Regions from separate parts of the Homo sapiens genome. Here region 1 is linked to region 2. The links are contacts of gene promoters, found by promoter capture Hi-C in blood cells and fetal thymus (Javierre and others, 2016). All regions are on one chromosome and are shown on one strand. The core of a region is centred on a gene start or on the middle of the fragment in contact, and the rest is flanking DNA. Distances in the headings are between cores, read along the strand shown.

Region 1 (6,310 bases), core at 891-3,390, 770 kb after region 2:
GTGAGACTCTGTCTCAAAAAAAAGAAAGGTATGTTCAAGTTAAGATAAAGAATTGTGGAGACCAAGTTTTATTGTGCAGAGGAAGCTCTCTGATAGCAGACTTCAGAGACAGCAGGTTGTAAAATGTTTCCTATCAGACCTAAAAGGGTACCTGGCTCTTAGTTGATTATCTCCTGGATCCAGAAAGGAAGAAAGGAAAACAAAGGGGAAAGGGGATTCTCTATAGAATGTGGATTTTTCCCACAAGGGACTTTGCAGGGCAATTTCAAGGTATGGCAAGAAAATATATTTTGGGGTAAAACATTTTTATTTTCTTTCTAGTTATGCCAGAGTCAGATTGGAAAGTAAGTCGTAATATACAGGATTAAATAAAACCCATCTGATGAGAATTTATGGTTTGTGGGTCATGACTCCCCATACCCCTTAATAAGGAATTTAGGCCAGATAAAAAATCAGAGCTTAGTCTTTACTAGATATCTGCTGTATTTCTAACTGGACTTCCTTACTTCACTTTTGCCCCACTATATCTGTTTTCCATACAGCAGGCAACCAGTTCTTGTTAATACATAATAAATCCTGCACTACCACAAATTTCTAAAATCCAGTTTACTCAAAAGAAAATCCAAATTTCTTTCCATGACCTATACTTCCCTACATAATCTTACCTTTGCTTGTCTCCCTGGCCCTATTTCCTACATTTTCTCACCTCATTTATTCCACTCTAACCACATTTTTTATTCCTTAAAAAATGCCAAATTTGTTTTGTTCCAATTTCAAATGCCTGCACCTTCTTCCATCTGCTTGAAATAAACTTTCTCCAGATTTTCACATGACCTGCTCATTTACTTTATTACCAGTATCCGCCCAGGTGCAGTGGCTCATGCCTGTAATCCTAGCACTTCGGGAGGCCGAGGTGGGCAGATCACAAGGTCAGGCGTGCGGGACCAGCCTGGCCAATATGGTGAAACCCCGTCTCTACTAAAAATACAAAAATTAGCCAGGCATGATGGCACGTGCCTATAATCCCAGCTACTCAGTAGGCTGAGGCAGGAGAATCGCTTGAACCCCAGAGGCAGAGGTTGCAGTGAGCCAAGATCAAGTCACTGCACTCCACTCCGGATGACAAAGAAAGACTCCATCTCAAAAAAAAAAGAAAATTACCAGTATCCTTGGCAAGTCCATCTAAAATAGGATTCACTGCTTCCAACACTCTCTAGCCTTTTACTTTGCTTTACTTTGACTTTACTTTCATTTTACTTTGCTTTACTACAACAATATCTATCATGAAGGTTGATATCAAATGATAATTTAGCTGATACAATTTTTGTTGAGCCTCCAACTGTGAATGAGAAAATAAAGCCTAAAGTTCATAGTACAGCTAATGACCATTAGATATTTTCTCTGTGAAAGTTTGCTAATCAGCTGAATAATTTTTCTCCTATAGGAATAGCAATAATTATAGTGGCTCATATAAAATATGCTCATGTATTAACATCCATCTCTACTGTAAATATATAATGAGCTTTGTGTTAGTCTGCTTGCATTACTATAAAAGAATACCTGAGGCTGGGTAATCTATAAAGAAAAGGGGTTAAGTTGACTCATAGTTCTACAGGCTGTGCATGAAGCATAGTGCCAGCATCTGCTTCTGATGAGGGCTTCAGGAAGCTTACAATCATGGTGGAAGGCAAAGGGGCGACAGTGTGCCACATGGTGAGAGTAGGAGCAAGCGAGATGCCAGACTCTTAAACAACAAGCTCTTGTGTGAACGAACAGTGAGAACTCATTACTTCAGGAGGGATCTACCCACATGACCCAAACACCTCCAAATAATACAGGAATTATTAAGAAATAACTTTTAGGCCGCTAGAAAGGGTAAAGGTTCTCAGTGGAAATTTTCCTGTAATAAGAAGCAACCCCCAAACCATTTCTTTTCTAACAGAAAGGCAGCTTGAAAAACCAGGCCGGCAAGCTTTGATATGCAAATGCTGGCGATTAGAAACTGGGTCCACCCAACATGGCCAACAGGAAGAGTGCCACCCTCTCCTCCTCATCACTACATGTGCCAAGTGTCATGATTGCCTCCAGATAACATGGATATCATGGTGACCTGCATTTGCATATTAAAGGAGTAAGGTAGGAGTGCCAGGTTTTTCACGGGCTATGTGAATGACACGCCTGGTCAAACCAATCTCCTGGGCCCTATGCAAATTAGACACCTCCTCCTCCAGCCTCCTGCTATAACAAACTACTCTGCCACACACGGGGTTTCTCTCTGGGAGCCCCCCTCCCTCTGTCCCTGTACTGGGAAGCTTCTTCCTTCTTTCTTGCTTATTAAACTCTCCACTCCTTAAAACCACTCTACATGTGTCCATGTCGCTTTATCTAAAACGATGTTAGACCAAGGACCCTGCTGTTCTTCCATTCATCAGAGCAGTTATCATTTTGGTTGCATTGACCGGGAATTCATTCATCGGAGTGGTGACTATAGAGCGAGCCCCAACCTCAAATCTCTCCTTCAATTTCAAGGCTCTCTTCTTACTATCCTGTTGCAAAATTTTCCTTCTTTCTCTATCCACGGTCTCTTACTCTCTCTCTGTGAAAAGTGCAGGGAGTTTTACAGTTCAGTGAAACAGGTCTGCTAGGAAAGATGGCAAACGCAGCAGGCAGTAACTCAACAAGCCCGCTCTCTGTGGCTGCGCTGGTGAGCATATAGTATTTCTAAGCCAACAGCGCCACCTAGTGGAAGTAGAAATCCTCTTCAGGGGCCACATTTTTTACGGTAACACTGAACTTCCTTTTGCACCACCAGAAATCAGGCTCTAACCTACTTCTGTGAACCGGAAAGTTCTGCCTTCAGCAATTAGAAGTAATATGTCCTCGACCGGGCATGGTGGCTTACGCCTGTAATCCCAACACTTTGGGAGGCCAAAGCGGGTGGATCACGAGGTCAGGAGTTCGAGACCAGCCTGGCCAATATGGTGAAACCCCGTCTCTACTAAAAACACAAAAATTAGCTGGGCGTGGTGGTGCACACCTGCGGTCCCAGCTGCTCAGGAGGCTGAGGCTATTGAATTGCTTAAAACGGGGAAGCAGAGGTTGCAGTGAGCTGAGATTACGTCACTGCACTCCAGCCTGGGTGACAGTGAGACTCTGTCTCAAAAAGAAGTAATATGTCTGCTGCCACATTTTAGTCTTGATATTGTCCCATAAGCAGGAAAATGGCCATTCTGTTCCTACGCTCTTTTAAGACATCTAATCTGTTTCCTGTTAAAATGGTATAATTAGTAGGGAGATTTTAAGTTCAGAAGTTAACCAGAACCATTTTTCTGAGGGTAAATGGTTTGGCATGGGCCATAATAGCAGGCAGTCTAGCACATTGCCTCTGTTAAAGGAGCCTTGACCAAAAACAACACAGTCTCTCCAAAGATCAATTTTTCAGGGAGCCAGGTAGATCACATAGGCTTAGGAAGTCAAAGGGAATCACACAAGGCAGATAAGCTAAGGTTGCGTGGGTAAAGTGTGGTTAATCCCATTGAGAGGTGACAGCGTGCTAGCAGTCCTCACAGCTCTCGCTCGCTCTCGGCGCCTCCTCTGCCTGGGCTCCCACTTTGGCGGCACTTGAGGAGCCCTTCAGCCCACCGCTGCACTGTGGGAGCCCCTTTCTGGGCTGGCGAAGGCCGCAGCCCGCTCCCTCAGCTTGCAGGGAGGTGTGGAGGGAGACGCGCGAGCGGGAACCGGGGCTGCGCGCGGCGCTTGCGGGCCAGCTGGAGTTCCGGGGGGGCGTGGGCTTGGCGGCCCCGCACTCGGAGCAGCCGGCCGGCCCTGCCGGCCCGGGGCAGTGAGGGGCTTAGCACCCGGGCCAGCGGCTGCGGAGGGTGTACTGGGTCCCCCAGCAGTGCCAGCCCACCGGCGCTGCGCTCGATTTCTCACCGGGCCTTAGCTGCCTTCCCGCGGGGCAGGCCTTGGGACTGCAGCCCGCCATGCCTGAGCCTTCCCCCGCCTCCGTGGGTTCCTGTGCAGCCGGAGCCTCCCCGACGAGCGCCGCCCCCTGCTCCACGGCGCCCAGTCCCATCGACCGCCCAAGGGCTGAGGAGTGCAAGCGCATGGCGTGGGACTGCAGCGCCGGTGCGGGATCCACTGGGTGAAGCCAGCTGGGCTCCTGAGTCTGGTGAGGACGTGGAGAATTTATGTTTAGCTCAGGGATTGCAAATACACCAATGGACACTCTGTATCTAGCTCAAGGTTTGTAAACACACCAATCAGCACCCTGTGTCTAGCTCAGGGTTGTGAGCGCGCCAATCGACACTCTGTATCTAGCTGCTCTGGTGGGGCCTTGGAGAACCTTTGTGTGGATACTCTGTATCTAACTAATCTGATGGGGAGGAGGAGAACCTTTGTACCTAGCTCAGGGATTGTAAACGCACCAATCAGCGCCCTGTCAAAACAGACCACTCGCCTCTACCAATCAGCAGGATGTGGTTGGGGGGGGGCCAGATAAGAGAATAAAAGCAGGCTGCCCGAGTTGGTAGTAGTAACCCGCTCGGGTGTCTCTCTGCCTTGGTGGGGCTTTGTTCTTTCGCTCTTGGGGTCCATACTACTTTTGTGAATTACAGCACTCACCACGAAAGCTTGCGAGACCACGAGCCTACCGGGAGGAACGAACAACTCCCGACGCGCTGCCTTAAGAGCTGTAACAGTGACCGCAAAGGTCTGCAGCTTTACTCCTGAGCCCGCCAGACCATGAACCCACCAGAAAGAAAAAACTGAACACACCTGCACATCAAAAGGAACAAACTCCAGACGCGCCACCTTAAGAGCTGTAACACTCACCGTGAGGGTCTGCGGCTTCATTTTTGAAGTCAGTGAGACCAAGAACCCACCCATTCCGGACACACCATCACTTAGTTCATCCGCTCCCATGGCTTGGGGGACCATGCTTACAATCGTGGGTGGCACATTTAACAGGGTCCCAGGAACCAGGGAAGGAAAACAGGACACTCCACTGTGTTATTCTCCGTCGGGGGTCATAGGGAATCAAAGTAGATTAAAAGGACACTTTTATTGCTTTTCTTTCTAGATGGGTAACAGATTATCTTCAGTTTGTGCCCCTCTGGCGTGCACTCTGAAACACTGAAACTTTCTTAGCCTCAGGACATTAAAGAGAAGAGCAACTCATTTTATTTTGCACAAGGGCATGGTATTTTTACTGAAACTTTGCAAGCAGTGTAAGATCAACCCAGCTCTTTTAGGAATCATATCAGGCACGCTCACTGAAAATAATTCCCCAAAATTAGAAAAGCAACTTCCAGAGGAGCCATCTGAAGATCCCCCTTCTTTGGGGGCCCCTTCAAGTTCCCTTCTCGTTACAGCCCCTTAGGCCTGTAATAAAGGGAGACTTAGCCAATTTTCTCACAACCCTGATAGGTATATAAAAGCTTTCCAGGCTGGGCGCAGTGGCTCACGCCTGTAATCCCAACACTTTGGGAGGCTGAGGCGGGCAGATCACGAGGTCAAGAGATTGAGACCATCCTGGTCAACATGGTGAAACCCCGTCTCTACTAAAAATACAAAAATTAGTTGGGCGTTGTGGCATGTGCCTGTAATCTCAGCTACTTGGGAGGCTGAGGCAGGAGAATCGCTTGCACCCAGGATGTGGAGGTTGCAGTGAGCCAAGATCACGGCACTGAACTCCAGCCTAGCAATAGAGTGAGACTCCGTCTCAAAAAAAAAGCTTTCCAAAATTTAACTCAGGTATTTCACCTCAGATGGAAGGATGTTATGTTGCTCCTAAGTCAGACCCTCACTGCAGCTGAAAAGCAGGCAGCTCTGATTTCAGAGATTAGCAACATATCTCCTATAATACACCAAAAGGGAAGAAAGCAGATAAGGAAAGAGAAGAAATAGCAGAAATGCCATTCCCAATTGGGAGGAAAGCAGTTTCCCTTGACAACCCTAATTGGGACCCCAATAACTCAGGAGATGAAAAGGAAGCTCTTTTTTAAGTGTGCATTAGAGGGCCTACGGAAAACCAGGGCCAAACCTCTCAATTACTCTAAACTGTCCATGATAAACAGCCAGATGAGAATCTTGTAGCCTTTATGGAAAGGCTGAGAGAGGCACTAACAGAACACCCCTCCTTATCCCCTGATTCAGTCGAGGGACAGCTCATCCTAAAGGACAAGTTTATTAGACAGGCAGCTGCCAATATTAAAAGGAAACTACACAAGCAAGCTATAGGACCAGATAGCACCTTAGAGAACTTCCTGAAAGTGGCCACTTTGGTCTTTTGTAATAGGAACCAGGAGGA
Region 2 (6,572 bases), core at 3,569-6,068:
TAAAAATATTAAAAGACTTCTTTGATTGTTATAGGTATGATTTACAACCAAAAGTGATTTTTGTAGTTTTTTAAAATAATTGGTAAAATGTTTTCATTTTGATAATCTTGAAACAATTAATTCTCGTGAGTCTTACAGGTCCCTGACTGTCATTTGAGAACTCGTGATGTACCTTCATTTTCTAGATAAGGAAGTTGAGACTCACAGGAATATAAAATCATTCTGTCTCACAAGTTCTAGGCCCCCTGCCCTGTCCATAGATTATTTATGGTAGATCTAGGACCAGCATCCTGGCCTCCCAACTCCCAGGCTTAGTATTATTTGTCTTATACTGGGACCCCTAAGATGGGTGCCGTGCTTTTAGCAGCTCCTCTTTACAGAGCAGTTCTGACATAGGGGGCAGGGGATTGAGGTTCCCGAATCACTTTCCAGGTAGGCCTCCGGGAGCTGCTGAGGTGACCCTTTTCCCACAGATGTGTCCATCGAGATGCCAGAGGAGCTCGACATCTCCCAGTTGAGGGGCACAGGGCTGCAGCCCGGAGAGGAGGAGCTGCCAGACATTGCCCCACCCCTGGTCACTCCGGATGAGCCCAAAGGTAGCCTTGGTTTCTATGGCAACGAAGACGAAGACTCCTTCTGCTCCCCTCACTTCTCCTCTCCGACATGTTAGTGACTCTTCTTCCTGCCTGTCTCTCTCCCGTGCTGATGGGGGCCTCTCTGCCTTGCATCCCCTGCCCCTGTCCTTTGTGTTTCTCCTGTCCTCCCTTTCAAATTTCCTCTGCCCTCTTTGATTGACATGGGGCCTCCCCAGCGCACTCCTAGCCACCTTCTGGGTGTGGATGGCAGCAGTGCCAGCTAGTGGCCTCTCTGCCCTTGTTACCTCCCTGGTTTGGGTAGGGTGGGGGTATCATGCTCCAGAAACAGGGCCCATTCTGTGAGAATGGGCAGGGACCCACATTACAATTGTGTGGTCATTTTGGTTTTGGGATAAGGTGCCAATCCATGGGAGAAAAATGCATGGAATGGGTGATTGGAAGAGGGCTGGGTCCTGGGGGAGGGAGGAGGAGCAAACAGTGGCCCAATCAGTCGGTCCGTGTACCCACAATTCCCATTACAGCGCCCATGCTGGATGAATCAGTCATCATCCAGCTGGTGGAGATGGGATTCCCTATGGACGCCTGCCGCAAAGCTGTCTACTACACGGGCAACAGCGGGGCTGAGGCCGCCATGAACTGGGTCATGTCACACATGGATGATCCAGGTAGGCTGGGGTGGGGAGCAGGGTGGGGCAGGGCCTCCATCCTCCCCCAAACACATCAACCCCTTCACATCCACAGATTTTGCAAACCCCCTCATCCTGCCTGGCTCTAGTGGGCCGGGCTCCACAAGCGCAGCAGCCGACCCCCCTCCTGAGGACTGTGTGACCACCATTGTCTCCATGGGCTTCTCCCGGGACCAGGCCTTGAAAGCGCTGCGGGCCACGGTATGGGCTGCCCCAGCTAAGGACATGGGGCCAGTGGGGAAGAAGGGGGTGGGAATGAGGGGCCATCCTTCTTGAGCAAGACCAAAGACAACAGGTGTGGTCTGGCCGAGGTTGGGCACCACTCTTTTGTGGCTGCGATGAAGGAGCTGAAGCCTGCGTTCACTGCTGGGTTTTTTGCCCCAGAACTTGTTAAAAATGTAATGCTTCTGTTTGGCCGGGCGCGGTGGCTCACGCCTGTAATCCCAGCACTTTGGGAGGGTGAGGTGGGCGGATCACGCGGTCAGCAGATCAAGACCATCCTGGCTAACACGGTGAAACCCCGTCTCTACGAAAAATACAAAAAATTAACCAAGCGTGGTGGTGGGCGTCTGTAGTCCCAGCTACTTGGGAGGCTGAGGCAGGAGAAAGGCGTGAACCCGGGAGGCGGAGCTTGCAGTGAGCCGAGATCGCGCCACTGCACTCCAGCCTGGGCGACAGAGCAAGACTCCGTCTCAAGAAAAAAAGTAATGCTTCCTTCCTCTCCAAGAACAATAGTTTAGAACGGGCTGTGGACTGGATCTTCAGTCACATTGACGACCTGGATGCTGAAGCTGCCATGGACATCTCAGAGGGCCGCTCAGCTGCCGACTCCATCTCTGAGTCTGTGCCAGTGGGACCTAAAGTCCGGGATGGTCCTGGAAGTGAGTATCCCCAGGAAGCAGGACAGGCCTGGTGGAATCTGGTCAGTCTACTACACCAGATCCCTCATTCAGGCAGCTCTGCCCTCCTCAGGAGTCAGGGGCTTCTTTCCACCTCAACGTGGCATCTGAGGGTGGGGTTCTCTGACATGGAGACAGGCTCTGGCCCAGTACCTGCCTCACATTCCCTGAAACTCCTGTCCTGAGTCTGAGCTGTTGTCTGGATCTTTGGGCCATCACTCAAGCATTCCTCTTCTGTTTCCTTCTCTGACCCCCTCTCTCCTTTCCTAGAGTATCAGCTCTTTGCCTTCATTAGTCACATGGGCACCTCTACCATGTGTGGTCACTACGTCTGCCACATCAAGAAAGAAGGCAGGTGAGTGCTGGCCACATGCGTTTTGAATGGAGAATGGTGGTGGGAATGAGGAGGGCCATTTGGAAGTCCTTGGGATAGCTATGGGAGAAGGTGAAGGGACTGCCTGATGGGGACATAAAGTGCCAGAGAGTGACAGAAGGTCTTGCAGCAGTGATTGGCCCAAGGGTTGGATCTGGCCACCAGCTTTTTTTTTAAATAGAGATGGGATCTCACTATGTTGCCCAGGCTGGTCTTGAACTCCTGAGCTCAAGTGATCCTTCTGCCTCGGCCTCCCAAAGTGCTAGGATTACAGGCATGAGCTACCGTGCCTGGCCAGGCCCCCTGCCTTTGTAAATAAATTTTCACTGGAACCTGGACACACTTGTTTATGTGTTGTTTGTGCCTGTTTTCACGCTGCGGCAGGAAAGTTGAGTCGTTGTGTCAGAGACCAGAGAGAGAGCCTGCAGAACCTCAAATACTATCTGGCCCTTGCCAGAAAAAGTTTACCAACCCCCTGCCTCCCTGGAATGGGTGGAGGGTGGTTGTAAAGGTACTGGAGGATCTGAAGACATAATAGGGTCCGTGACCCTTGTGAGGTTGTGAAGCTCCCTTAAGGCACATGGTGGCTGGGCTGTGGATTTGGGGTATGGGCAGAGAGTGTGGAGAGCACTTCCAGGGGCCATGTCTGAGAGACTACATGATGCCACTTTGAATGCCCAGTTTGTTCATCCTTTTCTGTTTTCCCCACTTCCCCAGATGGGTGATCTACAATGACCAGAAAGTGTGTGCCTCCGAGAAGCCGCCCAAGGACCTGGGCTACATCTACTTCTACCAGAGAGTGGCCAGCTAAGAGCCTGCCTCACCCCTTACCAATGAGGGCAGGGGAAGACCACCTGGCATGAGGGAGAGGGGCTGAGGGATGGACTTCAGCCCCTCTGCTCTGTACCCTTTTTCCTTTTGTCCCCGGCAGCAGGGAAGAAGCTGGAGGCCGTGGGAGAATGGCTGGGCAGAGCAGAGGGGCAGCGATAGACTCTGGGGATGGAGCAGGACGGGGACGGGAGGGGCCGGCCACCTGTCTGTAAGGAGACTTTGTTGCTTCCCCTGCCCCCGGAATCCACAGTGCTCTGCTTCTCTGTGTCGCCCCGCCCAGCCCCCTGGTGTGGAGGGAGGGGTCTCGTTTGTGCGCGTGGGTGTAGCTTTGTGCATCCTCTCCCAGTGGAGCGATCACCTGTGCCTCCCCTCCCCCTTTGTTTGCCCCTGTGTGGTTGGTCAAGGAGGGATGTGAGGGAAATAGGGACCCCCCGACTTGCCCTCCTGCCTCAGTCTTTCCCCCACCCTGTCTCTTCCTTGTCCTTCTCTGGAAAATGCCAAAATACACGATGTGAATAAAAGTACAACGGCTAAATTGTGTCCTGTTTGATACCTTGGGGGAGAGGCTTACCTTCCTGGGGTTAGCAGGAGGGCGCTTAAGAAAACTCCTAACTCTGGCCGCCTCCCTGCCAAAGTCAAGTCTCCACTTTTCACTGGTTCTAGAGCTCTAGGAAAATTGGGGTTGGGTGGGGAGGTGGAGTAGAGTGACTAAATGCCGACACAAAGCCAAGGAAAGATGGAGTGAAGAACCCTTCCCTCTCTTTATTCACACAGGAGTGGAGGATTTCCCAAATGTCCCTAACTGGCTAGCTGGCTTCAGGCTGGGACTCAGTCCCTGCAGTTCCTGCCAGGCCTTGCCAGCCGGGGCGAGGGTTGGGATGATCCTGGCGGCCTATGCCTGTGTGGGCTGCCCCTCCCGCTGTGAACCCTGCATTTGTCCCGCAAGTTTTCACTCAGGTAGACTCCCTGGGTACAAGGGTGCCTGCTCAGCAGTCGGGCATGAGCTGCTCCGATGGGCGAAGGAGGTTGTCTATCCCACAGTTGGAGAGGGGCCCTCTCTGCCCCAGTGGGCGATCTGGGCTACGGCCAAGTTGCCACCAGCTAGTTCCGCTTGAAAACCACTTCTGGCCCCGTGGGGGACTCAAGTCGCCAAGCGAGGGTTCCCCTGAGCGCCGGAGCTCACAGGTCTCGCCTTGTCCCGAAAGCCCCGCAATCGAGGCGGAGGCGACCGAGCCCCCGACTCTCCTAGAACGTTGCCACAAGAAGGGGGAACGTCGGAACAGTGCATCATCGGGCGGCGGCCGGGGCGGCGGCAGGAGGGCGGGCGGGGGGCAGGGCTCCGGGGGACTGGGCGGGCCATGGCGGAGGACGGCGAGGAGGCGGAGTTCCACTTCGCGGCGCTCTATATAAGTGGGCAGTGGCCGCGACTGCGCGCAGACACTGACCTTCAGCGCCTCGGCTCCAGCGCCATGGCGCCCTCCAGGAAGTTCTTCGTTGGGGGAAACTGGAAGATGAACGGGCGGAAGCAGAGTCTGGGGGAGCTCATCGGCACTCTGAACGCGGCCAAGGTGCCGGCCGACACCGGTAAGCCCTCGCCGAGGAGGGGTCTGGCCGGGCCGGGGCCGGGGCCGGGGCAGGAGTGGCAGCGCCCTCTCCCGAGGCCCCGAGGCCCCGAGGCCGGTATCCGCGCGGACCTGATGCAGGGCTGTGGGACGAGGGCCGCTGGGGTCCGGGCAGGGGCCTCGCAGCCGCAGCCCCGTCGGTGCGTCGAGGGGGCAGGGCGGAGCACATGATGCCCCTTGGACTATGGGGCAGGTAAGGACGTTTTGGGTCTCCTGGAGGAAGGTGGCCCCGGGGCGCGCACTGGGGCTGTGCCCGCCAGGCGACGGGGTTAGGAGCGGAGCCCGAGGCTCTGCGGGAGACCGGGGGAGGCTGGGCCGCGTGGGCTTCCCGCTCCCTGCGCCCTGGCCTCCCGCGCCGTGCGCCGCCGCACGTAGCCCCAGACTCCTCCCCTTCCTCGCCGGCGTCCGCGTCCCCGCGCCGAGCTGCTCGGGCTCCCTGAGCCCCAGATCTGACCCCTTCCCTTCGGCAACCTGAACGACTCCCGCCTTCCACGGAAGGGACCGAGCCCGTGCCAAACAGGCTGAGCGATTTGGGAGTGAGGAGCCATCCTACCGCTTTCCCCAACCTGGAAACAGCAAAGCGCAAGGCCTCTGAGTCAGTTAGGTCTCTGCCACCCACGGGCAAAGGATGCTCTCCTCCATCCTCCTTCCTCCCTCCACCGAAATCGGAGAGCCGCGGGCCTGATCCAAAGAGGCATCCCCTTCTCGTTCATTCCCCAGAGGCCTCAATACAAACCCCAGGAGTTGGCCCCTCTCCTTTTGCTACAAATCCTTGCCTTGCAAAGGGGAGGTGAGGATGGGCTATTTTAGAAGGGAAGCAGGGTTGCTCCCTGGAGAATGCTGAGTCTGTGAGGTGCCTATGCCGAGAATAGCTCGAGGAAATTGGAGCCCCAGCTGTTAAAAGAGCAGAGGGCAGGGTGAGGGCCGTGGCCTCTCAGGGGTATCTGGAAGGCTCTTCGAGTTGAGTGCAGACCCAGCCTGGGCTGGAAAATGGACAAAGGTCATCTTGCTGGGGTGAAAAGGGGGAGAGCAGAACCAAGAAGAAGAGGGTGAGGGCTGGGGGGCTCCAGGGCACTGGTTAGGAATTGTGGGGAATGAAGGCTTTCTTTAGTCTCATCCCCCTGTGGTACCATCTTGTCCTCAGAGGTGGTTTGTGCTCCCCCTACTGCCTATATCGACTTCGCCCGGCAGAAGCTAGATCCCAAGATTGCTGTGGCTGCGCAGAACTGCTACAAAGTGACTAATGGGGCTTTTACTGGGGAGATCAGGTGAGATCGAGGTGGAGAGGGGTGTGTGGGACCCTTCCCTCACTTTCCTCGTTGAGGGGAAAGCCACAGGGTGGGCTCCCTGCTGAACCTTGGCTTCATCTCTTCCTTTAGCCCTGGCATGATCAAAGACTGCGGAGCCACGTGGGTGGTCCTGGGGCACTCAGAGAGAAGGCATGTCTTTGGGGAGTCAGATGAGGTTAGTAGCCAAGAGAGAAGATAAGGGATGTCTTTTTCCAAGAAGGATGTCTCACCAAGTCTGTTTCTCAACAGCTGATTGGGCAGAAAGTGGCCCATGCT

The links. The method cuts DNA at HindIII sites, captures the fragments that hold promoters and counts their contacts. A CHiCAGO score of 5 or more calls a contact.
Region 1: a contact is called between a fragment that was not itself captured here and the fragment with the promoter of TPI1 in region 2, in 1 of 17 cell types (fetal thymus). The highest score is 6.6, in fetal thymus.

The regions. Positions count from the first base shown.
Region 1 is chr12:7,636,122-7,642,431 of GRCh38, forward strand. No RefSeq gene overlaps it. Among named protein-coding and RNA genes, the nearest start is that of APOBEC1, 27 kb to the right of the region's middle. RefSeq lists an enhancer at 1,725-2,259 and silencers at 2,701-2,830, 3,912-4,011. The HindIII fragment of the contact is 340 bases long and covers 1,971-2,310 here.
Region 2 is chr12:6,862,713-6,869,284 of GRCh38, forward strand. It overlaps TPI1 (triosephosphate isomerase 1), which reads left to right and starts at 4,819. Exons shown (of 7, transcript NM_000365.6): 1 at 4,819-4,969; 2 at 6,152-6,275; 3 at 6,387-6,471; 4 at 6,546-6,572. The coding sequence starts at 4,855. It overlaps USP5 (ubiquitin specific peptidase 5), which reads left to right. Exons shown (of 20, transcript NM_001098536.2): 15 at 474-665; 16 at 1,118-1,261; 17 at 1,338-1,483; 18 at 2,010-2,163; 19 at 2,452-2,536; 20 at 3,272-3,920. The coding sequence ends at 3,365. RefSeq lists enhancers at 3,072-3,734, 3,735-4,396 and silencers at 4,666-4,715, 4,986-5,425. The HindIII fragment of the contact is 21,039 bases long and covers 1-6,572 here.